2 separate regions of the Homo sapiens genome follow, and region 1 is linked to region 2. Evidence: promoter capture Hi-C in 16 types of primary human blood cells and fetal thymus (Javierre and others, 2016). All regions are on one chromosome and are shown on one strand. The core of a region is centred on a gene start or on the middle of the fragment in contact, and the rest is flanking DNA. Distances in the headings are between cores, read along the strand shown. Region 1 holds the start of COG6 (component of oligomeric golgi complex 6). Region 2 holds the start of SUPT20H (SPT20 homolog, SAGA complex component).

Evidence for each region. The method cuts DNA at HindIII sites, captures the fragments that hold promoters and counts their contacts. A CHiCAGO score of 5 or more calls a contact.
Region 1: the fragment with the promoter of COG6 here is called in contact with the fragment with the promoter of SUPT20H in region 2 in 4 of 17 cell types (naive CD8 T cells, total B cells, naive CD4 T cells and 1 more); the score reaches 13.4 in naive CD8 T cells.

The regions. Positions count from the first base shown.
Region 1 is chr13:39,651,772-39,657,952 of GRCh38, forward strand. It overlaps COG6 (component of oligomeric golgi complex 6), which reads left to right and starts at 3,891. Exons shown (of 19, transcript NM_020751.3): 1 at 3,891-4,108. The coding sequence starts at 3,956. RefSeq lists a silencer at 4,155-4,204. The HindIII fragment of the contact is 8,496 bases long and covers 1-6,181 here.
Region 2 is chr13:37,056,112-37,062,578 of GRCh38, forward strand. SUPT20H (SPT20 homolog, SAGA complex component) reads right to left here and starts at 3,577. Exons shown (of 26, transcript NM_001014286.3): 1 at 3,448-3,577. RefSeq lists a silencer at 3,489-3,748. The HindIII fragment of the contact is 8,647 bases long and covers 1,390-6,467 here.

The sequences.
Region 1 (6,181 bases), core at 2,641-5,140, 2.6 Mb after region 2:
CTCCCAGGTTCAAGCGATTCTCCTGCCTCAGCCTCCTGAGTAGCTGGGATTACAGGCATGAGCCACCACACCCGGCTCCATATCTTTTTTAATTTTGGATTTTTAATCACCTTTACAGGCAGCGGTAATTGATGAAGTAAGTCCTGACCAACATAAAAACACATTTTTGCAATGAGGTGCTAAAGAGTCACACAACTTCTTTTGCAAGCTAGTTGAATTCCAAGATCCTGTCCTTTTTGGAGTTTTGGAAAACAATATGTGAAATAGGTTATTATTTTAATTCTAACACTTTTTCTATAGATCCTTCTGGATTATCTAGGGACACATTGCATCACCTATCAAAAAGTGTAAATTTTAAAAATTCTCTCTAATCTTTATGACTTTTTTCTTAGTTTATTATTCTGGTTTGAGCTTCTAGTGAAATATTGAATAGCAGTGTTAGTGGATAGTTTTTGTCTTATTCTTGATGTCAAGGAGAAAGTTTTAAATATTTCCTTAGGTGTGATGTTTGTCATAGGGTTTTTTTTTGTATATACTCTCAATCCAATTAAGGAAATCCCCTTTTATTCAAATTGCTAAGAGTTTACTTGTTTCTTTAATCATGAATGGATATTGGATTTTATCATCGGCTTTTTCTCAATCTATAGAAAAGCTCACATGGGAGAAAGAATAGTCCTTTTAGCAAATGGTGTGGGAGACAACTGAATATCCACATTTAAGACAATAAAACTGGATCCCTACCTAACATCCATACACAAAAATTAGCTCAAGGTACAAGATAGGCTTTAATATAAGTGCTGAAACTATAAAATTTTATTAGGCCTGTGCAAAAGTAATTGCGATTTTTGCCATTACTTTCAATGGCAAAACCTGCAATTACTTTTGTGCCAATGTAATAGAAGAAAACACAGGAATAAATTTTTGTGATCTAGGTTGGGTAATAATTTCTTGAATAAGGCACCAAAAGCACAAATAATAAAAAAGGAAATTGATAAGTTGTATCTCATCAAATTAAGATTAATTGTGCTTCAAAGGATGCCATTGAGAAAGTGAAAAGACAAGCAAAAGTAGGAAAAAATATTTTCCAATAAATTGTTAGGACTAGTATCCAGAATATATAAAGAATTCTTACAACTCAATATCACTAGTCACTAGGAAATGGAAAGCCAAATCTCAATGAGGTATCATATCACACTGAGTAGGATGGATAAGATAAAAAAGACAGACCATAATGAGTGTTAGTCAGGATGTGAAGAATACTGGAGCCCCTCATACAGTGCTGGTGGGAATGAAAAATGGGGCAGTCACTTCGGAAAACTATTTGACAGTTTCTCAAAACATTAAACATAGAGTTAACCATAAGAACAATCTACTCCTAGGTATCTTCCTAAGGAAAGTGAAAACATACATCCACACAAAAACTCTCACATGAAAATTCACAGAGACATTTTTCATAAAAGCCAAAAATTTGAAACTACCTAAATAGCCATCTGACGAATGAATAAAATATGGGAGATCCATACAATGGATTATTATTTGGCAATAATAGGGAATGAAACACTGATACAAGCTACAAAATAGATGAACCTTGAAAAATTATGCTAAGTGAAAGAAGTCAGGCATGAAATGTTACATATTGTATAATTCTGTTTATATGAAATGTCCAAACTGGCATATCTATAGAGACAGAGAGCAGATTTGTGGTTTCCTAGGGTGGTAGAGAGGGGAAAATGGGGAGTGCTAGTGGGTACAGTTTTCTTCTTAAAGTAATGAAAATGTCTTAAAATTAGATGATGGTGATATTTGCCAACTCTGTAAATGAACTAAAAGCTGTCATATTTTATACTTTTAATAGGTGAAGTTTATGGCCTGTAAATTATATCTAAATAAAGATTTTAAAAATTAATATAAATTTGTATTTTTTATTACTTAAACATTTTGTCTATTTATCTCCAATTTACTTTTTAAAATAAACAGCTTTATTTTTTTTTTTTCAATTTTAAGATAGGGCCTTGCTCCATCACCCAGGCTAGAGTAGAGGGCAGTGGCATGATTATGACTTACCGCAGGCTTGAGCTCAAGTGATACTCCCACCTCAACCTTCCAAGTAGCTGGGACCACAGGCATGCCACCACACTCGACTAGTTTTCGTATTTTTTTTTTTTTTTTTGTAGAGACAGGGTCTCGCTATGTTGCCCAGGCTGGTCTTTAACTCCTGAACTCGAGATCCCCCTGCCTAAGCCTCCCAAAGTGCTGGGAATACAGGTGTGAGCCACCATACCTGGCCTAAAAAACAGATTTGAGATGAAACTTGCATGCCATTCAATTCATTCATTTAAAGTGTACAGTTCAGTGTTTTTTAGTATATTTACAGAGTTGTGCAACCATCACCACAATTTAGCTTTAGAGTATTTTCATCTCCCCAAAAATTAACCTGTACCATGAACTGACACTCCCCATTCCCTCTTCCCAACACTCCTCTTCCCAGAACCACTCATCTACTTTCTATCTCTATTGATTTACCTATTTGGGAGATTTCACATAAAGAGGTCATACAATATGTGGTATTTCATGACCGCTCCTGACTTGGCATGTTATCATCGTCATTCCTTTTAATTGTACATATTTGCAAGCTCTACATTATATTATTGCTTTGTATATATGCAAATTCATTTGGATATATACACCTTAGGTAAACCTTTGATATTTTAATTTTGGTTACACTGAACTTAAATTTATCTGTGAAAGAGAAAAGACATCTTACAATATTGAGTCTTCCTGTTGAAGAGAACAATATATTTTTTCATTGATTTAAGTTTTATGTTCTCCCAGTAGCATTTTAAAGTTTTCTTCATCTAGGTTCTCTGTATTTTTTGTTGAATTCATACCTAGATATTGCTGCTTTTTGTATATTTTTTTCTTTTGGATAGTTGGGCCTTCTCTTCTTCATTAGAGTAGAGATGAGTGGTTTTGTCAGTGCTTTCTTTATGTGACCTCTGTAATAGGTAATTTTCCCTTAAGTCTGATATACAATATAACTATGTACATAGACATATATGAAACAAGGAAAATTTATGACAAGAGCCAAATAGTGTTTCTGACAAATAATTCACAGAAGCCCAGCGATTTTATTTTGATCCAAATTTTAAAAACTGAGAAAAGAAAGAAAAAAAGCAATGATGTTTGTTTTCCAGAGTTTCCCGGGAAGTTTTTTCAACTTGTTACATTTTTATCCATTACTTTACAGCTACATGGGCTCTGGTCCATTTGTGTCAGGGCCAAGTTCATCTTGTTTTGAGGCCTGTACACTTACACACTTTCTTCTGCCTGGGAATGATTTCTCCTCACATTCTGATTCTCCTTCAAATCTCAGTTTAAGTGTCAACTCCTCTCCAAACCTCCCTGAGTGAAGTGGGCCTTTCCCTCCATTTTCTTTCACTGTACTACTTCATCCCCTGAGCACTCATCACAACCTAATAACATCTATTAACAGCTTTGTCTGTTTCAGACACACAATGTAGATTCTCCAATGCCTACCAGAGTACCTGGCACATACTATGCCTTCAATAAATAATTTTCAAAAAAATGAATTCAGATAAGGCAAATGTAATTTAAACTTTCAGTTAACTTATATTGAATGTATATGCCAGGCACAAGTCATGGTGTATTTTACATACTACATTTGGTTGTCATCTAATTAGCTCTGAAGGTCGCAGATCCATAATTCCAAAGTCCTCTCTAATCCTATAAATTTTCTCCTTCTACCTGAGGGTCTTGTCCCGCCCCCCACATCTTCTCCGCCCCTCACGCTTCTGAGAGCCCAAGCAGGGTTACCCGGCGAAGACTTCCGGGGCCGATGCGCATGCGCGGCCGATTTGCACATGCGCAATACTCGCGCTGCCTCCGTGGTCCCTGCCTGGCTGAGGTGGCAGCAGGGGGCGGGACGCGCAGCGCTATGGCAGAGGGCAGCGGGGAAGTGGTCGCAGTGTCTGCGACCGGGGCTGCCAACGGCCTCAACAATGGGGCAGGCGGGACCTCGGCGACGACCTGCAACCCGCTGTCGCGCAAGCTGCATAAGATCCTGGAGACGCGGCTGGACAACGACAAGGTAACCGGGGCTGGCGGGGCCGGAGTCACAGGTTCCTGCGGGGCTGAGCCGGGCCAGGGGCGGCGTCTGTCAGGGACCCACCGCGGTCTCCCTCGTCCCGGCAGCAGAGGGACCGCGAGTGACCCCAGACCTGCGGGCTCCGCTGCTCTGCGGGCGCCGGGGGCGGTGAGAAGGGGGAGCCCCAGCAACCTCCGGAAAAGCGAAGGGGTTTCCTGGGTGTTCTCTCCACCTGAAAAGGTGCCTTCAAGGCTCTCTGGATGGGATTGGTGAACGGTGGTGCCTCGAGAAGTGTCCTCCAAACACCCCTGGAGGCGTTTGGCTGTGTGAGCTGGGAGAGTGGAGGAGAGCACAAGACTGGATATGAAACAGATGCAAAAGAGCAGATTCCAAGATAAGGTAGCGCAAATGGGGGTCGGGAGACCAAGAGAGCAGTGGTAGGGATAAGGGTGCATTTCCACGGACAAGTGACAACAATTGCAATAATTTGCAGCGCGAAAGAACTACCTTTGCCCGTGGCTGAAATGAACTCATATCTACTAGTTTTTGTTGAGCCAAGCGCTATGATTTGTGGGCTCAGGCTGTATTTCTTTAGAAGATAAACTGACAGCATGCTCTCACAAGTACCTCCTGAAACTTAAGTTGGACTTTACAGCTCCTCACATACCCAGCCATCTCTTCTGTCTCTGTGGGTCGCTAGGTAAATTGGTCATGACAGTGTAACATAAAGAAGAACATATGTCAAAGTTAGAGAGTTTTATAGGTGAATATGTAGGTAACTGAAAATAAGCTGTCGATAACAATTTGATTCCGATATGTAAAAAAATAACATTGCAATGTAATGAATAAGAAATTAGGGCTCTGGAGACTACCACTTATTAGATAGAACCACTAAATGTGTGCATCATGATTTGAGTAAGTCCCTTCACTAATCTCAGCTTCTGTTTAGGAATTAGGAATCCTGCTGTTAAGTTTCTCATGGTTGTTATTTGAGGACTCAGTGAGAGACTCCAGGTAAAGTCCTTTGCAAAGAGCCTGGCACTTACTCTTTCTTAACAAATATTAATTTTATCATAAAATTTATGAAGTGTTTAATGTGTCTCATATTGATATTTATTATATCATTTAAGACTGCTACTTGCTCTGATATAGATAACATGGCCTTCTTTTTTGGACAGAGTTTTGCTCTTTTTGCCCAAGCTGGAGTGCAATGGGCGCAGTCTCGGCTCACTGCAACCTCTGCCTCCCGGGTTCAAGCGATTCTCCTGCCTCAGCCTCCCAAGTAGCTGGGATTACAGGCATGTGCCACCACGCCTGGCTAATTTTGTATTTTTATTAGAGACGGGGTTTCTCCATGTTGGTCAGGCTGGTCTTGAACTCCTGACCTCAGGTGATCTGCCCGCCTCAGCCTCCCAAAGTGCTGGGATTACAAGGCGTGAACCACTGCGCCCGGCCACATAACCTTCTTTTTACCATGAGGAAAATAAAGCATGGAGAGAGTGCAGCTAGGTTGTCATATAACTAGTAACTGGTGGAACTGTAATTTGCATCTGAGTCTGTGATTTCATTCGTTCAACATTACTGATTACTTCTTTGAACCAGACCTTAGGACATTTCAAGGCTATAGTCTAAAGAAACTGCTTCACTTCATGGGTTTTTTTTTTCTGTACAGTAAGTATTTATAGTTGTAAACATATTTTTGCTTCCTCTGAAATATTAAATTGAATTTATATAAATAGTTTTACTGTTTTTGTCAATCCAGCCAATATTTCAAAATAACAAATAGAAACATGAAAGGGTAAGCCTACTAGAATATACAGTAGTGGAGGTGTAGAAATGTATATCTGCAGAATTTAGTGTACAATGGGGATGTCCTGGGCTTGGTTCTCTGCTCTCTCTTCCATTCATGTTTTCTCTGTAAGAAAAATCTTGTACTTTCATGGTTTTAAGTAGCAAAAAGCATGATTACTCTCAAATTTATAACTCTGTTTCTGACATCTACTGAGCTCCAGATTTGTAGAATTAGTTGTCTATACTATACCTCCAATTGGATACTGATTGACGTCATAGAACTTA
Region 2 (6,467 bases), core at 2,327-4,826:
ACAACAGGTGCTGGAGAGGATGTGGAGAAATAGGAACACTTTTACATTGTTGGTGGGACTGTAAACTAGCTCAACCATTGTGGAAGTCAGTGTGGCGATTCCTCAAGGATCTAGAAGTAGAAATACCATTTGACCCAGCCATCCCATTACTGGGTATATACCCAAAGGATTATAAAACATGTTGCTATAAAGACACATGCACACGTATGTTTATTGCAGCACTATTTACAGTAGCAAAGACTTGGAACCAACCCAAATGTCCAACAATGATAGACTGGATTAAGAAAATGTGGCACATATACACCATGGAATACTATGCAGCCATAAAAAATGATGAGTTCATGTCCTTTGCAGTGACATGGATGAAGCTGGAAACCATCATTCTCAGCAAACTATCGCAAGGACAAAAAACCAAACACTGCATGTTCTCACTCATAGGTGAGAATTGAGCAATGAGAACTCATGGACACAGGAAGGGGAACTTCACACACCAGGGCCTGTTTTGGGGTGGGAGGAGGGGGGAGGGATAGCATGAGGAGATATACCTAATGTTAAATGACAAGTTAATGGGTGCAGCACACCAACATGGCACATGTATACATATGTAACAAACCTGCACGTTGTGCACATGTACCCTAAAACTTAAAGTATAATAAAAAGAAAAAAAAAAAAAGAAAATCTTCTTTTCTATAACTACAGGAGTTCTTATCCTGGCTGCACAAGAGTAACTTGCAGAGCTTCAAACTGTGGGATGCCTGTGACCCACCTGCTTGAGACTGATTAAGTGGTCTAGAGTGAGGCACAGTCCCCATTTTTGGAGCTCCCCAGACGAGTCAAACGTGCTGCCAGGGTTGAAGCTCACTCTGCCTAGCAAAGGATGGTGCGTAACATTTGCTCTGAGATAAGACTGGGCATGGTGGTTCACACCTGTAACCCCAGGACTTTGGGAGGCCCAGGTGAGAGGATCATCTGAGCTGAGGAGTTTGAGACCAGCCTGGGCAACATAGTGAGACTTGTCACTACTAAGGGAAGAAAAAAAAATTAGTCCAGCATGGTGGCACAGGTCCCAGCTACTCGGTAGGCTGAGGCAGGAGGATCACTTAAGCTTGGGAAATAGAGGCTGCAGTGAGCCATGATCACACCACTGTACTCCAGCCTGGGTAAAAGAGCAAGACCCTGTCTCAAAAAAAAAAAAGTTAGAAATAAAAATAAATAGAAAACATTTGCTCTGAGACTGATGACAAATAAAAATTATTTTTAATCTATTCACCTAACTTCATGTAACCACTACTGGGTGTCTACACAGCTGAACTAAAGCACAACTTCTGATGACAGAAAACAAGATTTTCCAGGTAAAACAGTTTTGCTTTGATTTTTGGTGAACCCCAAAGCTTTGTTTTTTGCCAAGCCATTAAAAAAAAAAAAAAAAAAAAAAGGAAAGGGCCAGGTGGGGTGTGGCTCACGCCAGTAATCCCAGCACTTTGGGAGGCAGAGGCTGCCAGATGGCCTGAGCCCAGGAGCAGTAGTTCCAGACCTGCCTGAGCAACATGGGGAAAGTGTCTCTACAAAAAAATACAGAAGGCCGGGTGCAGTGGCTCACACCTATAATCCCAGCACTTTGGGAGGCCAAGGCAGGTGGATTGCTTCAGCCCTGGAGTTCGAGACCAGCCTGGACAACATGGCGAAACCCCGTCTCTACTAAAAACACAAAAATCAGCCGGGTGTGGTGGCGTACACCTGAAATCCCAGCTACTCAGGAGGCTGAGGCAAGAGAATCACTTGAACCTGGGAGGTGGAGGCTGCAGTGAGCGAAGATCGCGCCACTGCACTGCAGCCTGGACGACATAGAGAGACTCCGTCTCAAAAAAAAAAAAAAAAAAAAGTTGGCTGGGGCGGTGGCTCAGGCCTGTAAGAGGCAGAAGCGGGTGGGTCACTTGAGGTCAGGAATTCGAGACCAGCCTGACCAACAATGGTGAAACCCAGTCTCTACTAAAAAAATTAAAAATTAGCCGGGTGTGTTGGCACACACCTGTAATCCCAGCTACTCCGGAGGCTGAGGCAGGAGAATGGCTTGAACTGGGAGGCAGAGGTTGCAGTGAGCCAGGATCGCCCCATTGCACTCCAGCCTGGACAACAAGAGTGAAACTCCGTCTGAAACTTTAAAAAATGGACTAACCTCCTAATACAACACAAACACAAGCACCATACAACTGTAAATGATTTACGATCATTTACAATGAGTAAGATATTACTCCTACCCTTGAAAAGCTCGTAGGAGGTTTAAGTTGAATTTAGGTGAACGTGAAAATTTTCTGACCACTGAATTTGAAGATGAAGATACACTATGTACTTTTCGGACAAAATGTGATGACTTTAAGATTTCTTGTCACTAAATTGGGGATGGGGGCTTACTAACTTTAAATTATTTAAGTACTTCAGACAAAAACTAATAACTTCATATCTCTCACAAAGCAAACATTCTGTCTATACACAGAATTTACTAGAACCTGTGAGGAAACTGTAATCATTATCATTTCCGTTTTACAGAATAAGGCAATCAGAACAACTGACTTTCCTAACATCACAGACCTAGATCAGAATTCAGAACTCTGTGTCCAATCTTAGGTCCCTTCCAATATTACAACCTGCAAACTAATCAAACCGGCATCTGTTTTTACATTTCTTTAAAAAAAGCAAAGCAATTAAAAAAAGGACCCAATTCTGCTCAGAGACGAATATGTATTTCTTAATTTGGATCTAACTTTATAACATGGTGATCAACCCAAGTACACTGTACTCGACTCCGAAAATCCTGCTCGTCACTTTATATTTTGAGTCCTACTAGAGACTTTGATGAATTGCACTCAAGAAGACGCGGCCCCCACTACGCAGTGGCTACGGGAGATGGCTTCCAGGGCAACTGTTCTCCAAGTTCATTTCTGAGCGCCGGGTAACCATGGCCAGTAATTAATCCAATTCTAAGCGTTGCTATCAATTCTACGCGTTGCTATCAATTCTACTGATTTCCCTGATCGACCAGAGTCTTCCCATTGCAGGAGCTTTTGTCACAACTTAGGCTTTACCTGTACAACCGTCATCTCCACAGAGGAGCGACAAGCCTTTATGCAATATGGACACCAAGAAAACCGCCTTCGAAGACACGCAAGGCAAAATTCTTGCCAGTGTCCGGAAATACCCGTCTCTGGAACCCAAAAGTCAAACTAAAATTAAAAGTTCGGCTTAGCAACACCGCGAAAGGCGATGTAGGCGTCCACCTGGAGTTTAGCTGCCTCAACCTCCGCCCCGGCCTGCCGGGTCTCTGGGGACCCCGTCTTCCTCCAGCGGGCTCTGGGATGCGGCCCGCTCACCTCTGACCCTGGCCGGATCTCGCGCGTCTAAGCCACCGCGTTGCCAGTCGCTGGCCACCCACCTACCGCCACCGCCCACCTGTGCGGGTCGCCTCGCCGCTAGGCCCCAAGACGGCGCCGCCTGCTCGGCAGCAAAGCCCACCCGCCCCGTCGGCGGCTCAGTGCTGCACCCCCACCAACAGCCAGTTCCGGCGGCCGCACTTCCGATTGGCAGGCTGGGCCGAGGGGCGGGGAAGGCGGGCGGAAGGGGAGGAGCCGGGAGGGCGGGGCCGCTGCCAGGAGCCTGGAGCGCTGCGTTCCGCGCAGGACGCCGGTGAGGCCCGCAGAGACTTGCGTCCGGGCGGGAGGCGGGGCCCAGGATCTCTGCTCAATCCTGGAGTCCGAGTCCGCAAAGTGGGAGGGAGGGTGTAGATGTGAATTTGGGGAAAAACGACCCTGTTGAATTTCTAGAGTGGAAGAAACATAGAACTAGCTTTTCTCTTTGCTTAGCACATACAAATGGAAAAACAGCGACACCGTTACCTACATTTACTAGTCCAATGCGTACAACCTTCTGTAGTATATCAACTGCCAATGAGTTTATGTTTTTAAAAAAACCACCCCAGAGAAGGGTTCTAAAAATTCAGAAACCGCATTACTAGCACACATTGTAAGGTCTGTTTTGTTTTGTTTGTTCGTTTGTTTTTCAGACAGAGTCTCGCTCTGTCGCCCAGGCTGGAGTGGAGTGGAGAAATCTCAGCTAACTGCAACCTTTGCCTCCTGGGTTCAAGCGATTCTCCCTGCCTCAGTCTCCGGAGTAGCTGGGATTATAGGCGTGCACCACCACACCCGGCTAATTTTTGTATTTTTAGTAGAGACTGTTTCACTATGTTGGGCAGGCTGCTCTTGAACTCCTCATCTCAAGTGATCCACCCGCCTTGGCCTCCCAAAGTGCTGGGATTACAGGCGTGAGCCATCATGCACGGCCTGGGGTGAATCTTTTTAATGAGCATTTATTATTTGCCGTTCACAATGCCAAGGGTCATAATGAATGAAAGTGTCTTGGAATTAGAGTTAGTGGTTGCACACATTATAAGTGTATTAAAGTACACTCCAAAATAAAATCCGAACACATTAAGTGGTTACTCCCATTCCTCCCTCTCTCAGCCCCTGGCAAATGCCAATCAGCTTTCAAACTGTGGTACCTATTACGGATATTTCATATAAATGGAATGTGTGACCTTTTGGTCTGTCTTCGTAGCATAATCTTTTGCAGGTTCACCTTGTACACCTTGTTGCATGTATCGGTACTTCATGTCTCTTTATGGCTACTATTCCACTGTACCTAGATGCCACAGTTTTACCTGTCCATCCACTGATGGACATTTGGGTTGTTTCCACTTTCGGGCTATTGTGAATAGCAATGATATGAACATTTGTATACAAGTATTTGTTCGAGTCCCTGTTTTCAATTCTTTTGGGTATAAACATAGTGGAACTTCTGGGTCTTATAGTAATTCTACGTGAAAATATTTGAGGAACCCATAAACAAATGTTTCTACAGCAGCTGAACCATTCATTTTACATACCAAGAGCATTGTCGGGGGATTCCAATTTCTCCACATCCTCACTAACACCATAATTTTCTATTCCTTTGATAGTAACCATCCCAAAGGGTATAAAGTGGTATTTTATTGTGGGTTTGATTTGCATTCCCTAATGGCTAGTTATCTTGAGCATCTTTTCATGCCCTTGTTAGCCATTTGTATATCTTCTTTGGAGAACTCTCTATTCAGGTATTTCCCCATTTTTAAATTGAGTTGTTTGTGTTTTTGTTGTTAGTTATGTGTAGTCATATATTCTGGATATTAGACCCTTATGAGATATATCATTGGTGGATACTTTCTCCCATTCTGTAGGTTGTCTTTTCACTTTCTTTGTAATATCCTTCAGTGTACAAACCTTTTTAATTTTGATGAAATCTAATTTATCTATTTTGTTACTTGTGCTTTTGGTGTCATCACCAAGAATCCATTGTGCAAGCACACTAGCTTTCATGTCTCTTCTTATGAGTAACTAATTCTATTGGATAAGGGCCCCACCTTTATGATCTTCTTAAACCTTAATTACCTCCTTATAGATCTTATCTCCAATACAGTGACATTGGGGTTTGGGGTTACATATATGAATTTTGTGGAGATATAATTTGGTCAACAGACTTCTGTACCCCTGCAATTCATGTCCTTATTGAATACAAAATACATTCATACCACTTCAACAGTCTCAAAAGCATCAACTCTAAAATCTGAAGTCCGAAGTCTCTTCTAAATATCACCTAAAACAGATAAGGGTGAGACTTGAGATATGATTCATCCTGATGCAAATTTTCTCCCCAGCTATGAAACTGTAAAACCAGGGAAGTTGTTTGCTTCCAAAATACAATGGCAGAACAGGCATAGAATAGGCATTCCAAACAAACAAACAAACAAAAATAGGAGCAAGAAAGGAAGGAAATAAAAGAAATAGGCAAAAAGGAAGGGATGACAGGTCCCAAGCAAGTCCAAAAATCTAGCAAGGCAAATTCTAGTAGATTTTAAGGCTCAAGAATAATCCATTTTGATTCAGTGCCCTGCCTTCCAGACCTACAAGGGTGGTGGCCCTGCCTTCTGGACCCTAGGTGGATGCTATACCTCTCCCCACACTCTGCCAGGCATGCTCTTCCAGGCAGAGTCTCATCCCAAAAGTTTTGCTAGGTAATGGCCTTGATAACATCTGAATTGCTTTGAGGTCATTCTCCCCTTTTCTTAAAGAATAGCACAAGTTTGGCCAGGTGCGGTGGCTCACGCCTGTACTCCCAACACTTTGGGAGGCCAAGGTGGGCAGATCACGAGGTCAGGAGTTTGAGACCAGCCTGGACAACATAGTGAAACCCCATCTCTACTAAATATACAAAAATTAGCCTGGCCTGGTGGTGCATGCCTATAATCTCAGCTACTTGGGAGGCTGAGGAAGGAGAATCACTTGAACCTGGGAGGTGAAAGTTGCAGTGAGCTGAGATCCCGCCATTGCACTCTAGCCTGGGCAATGGAGTGAGAATCTGTCTCAAAAAAAAAAAAAAAA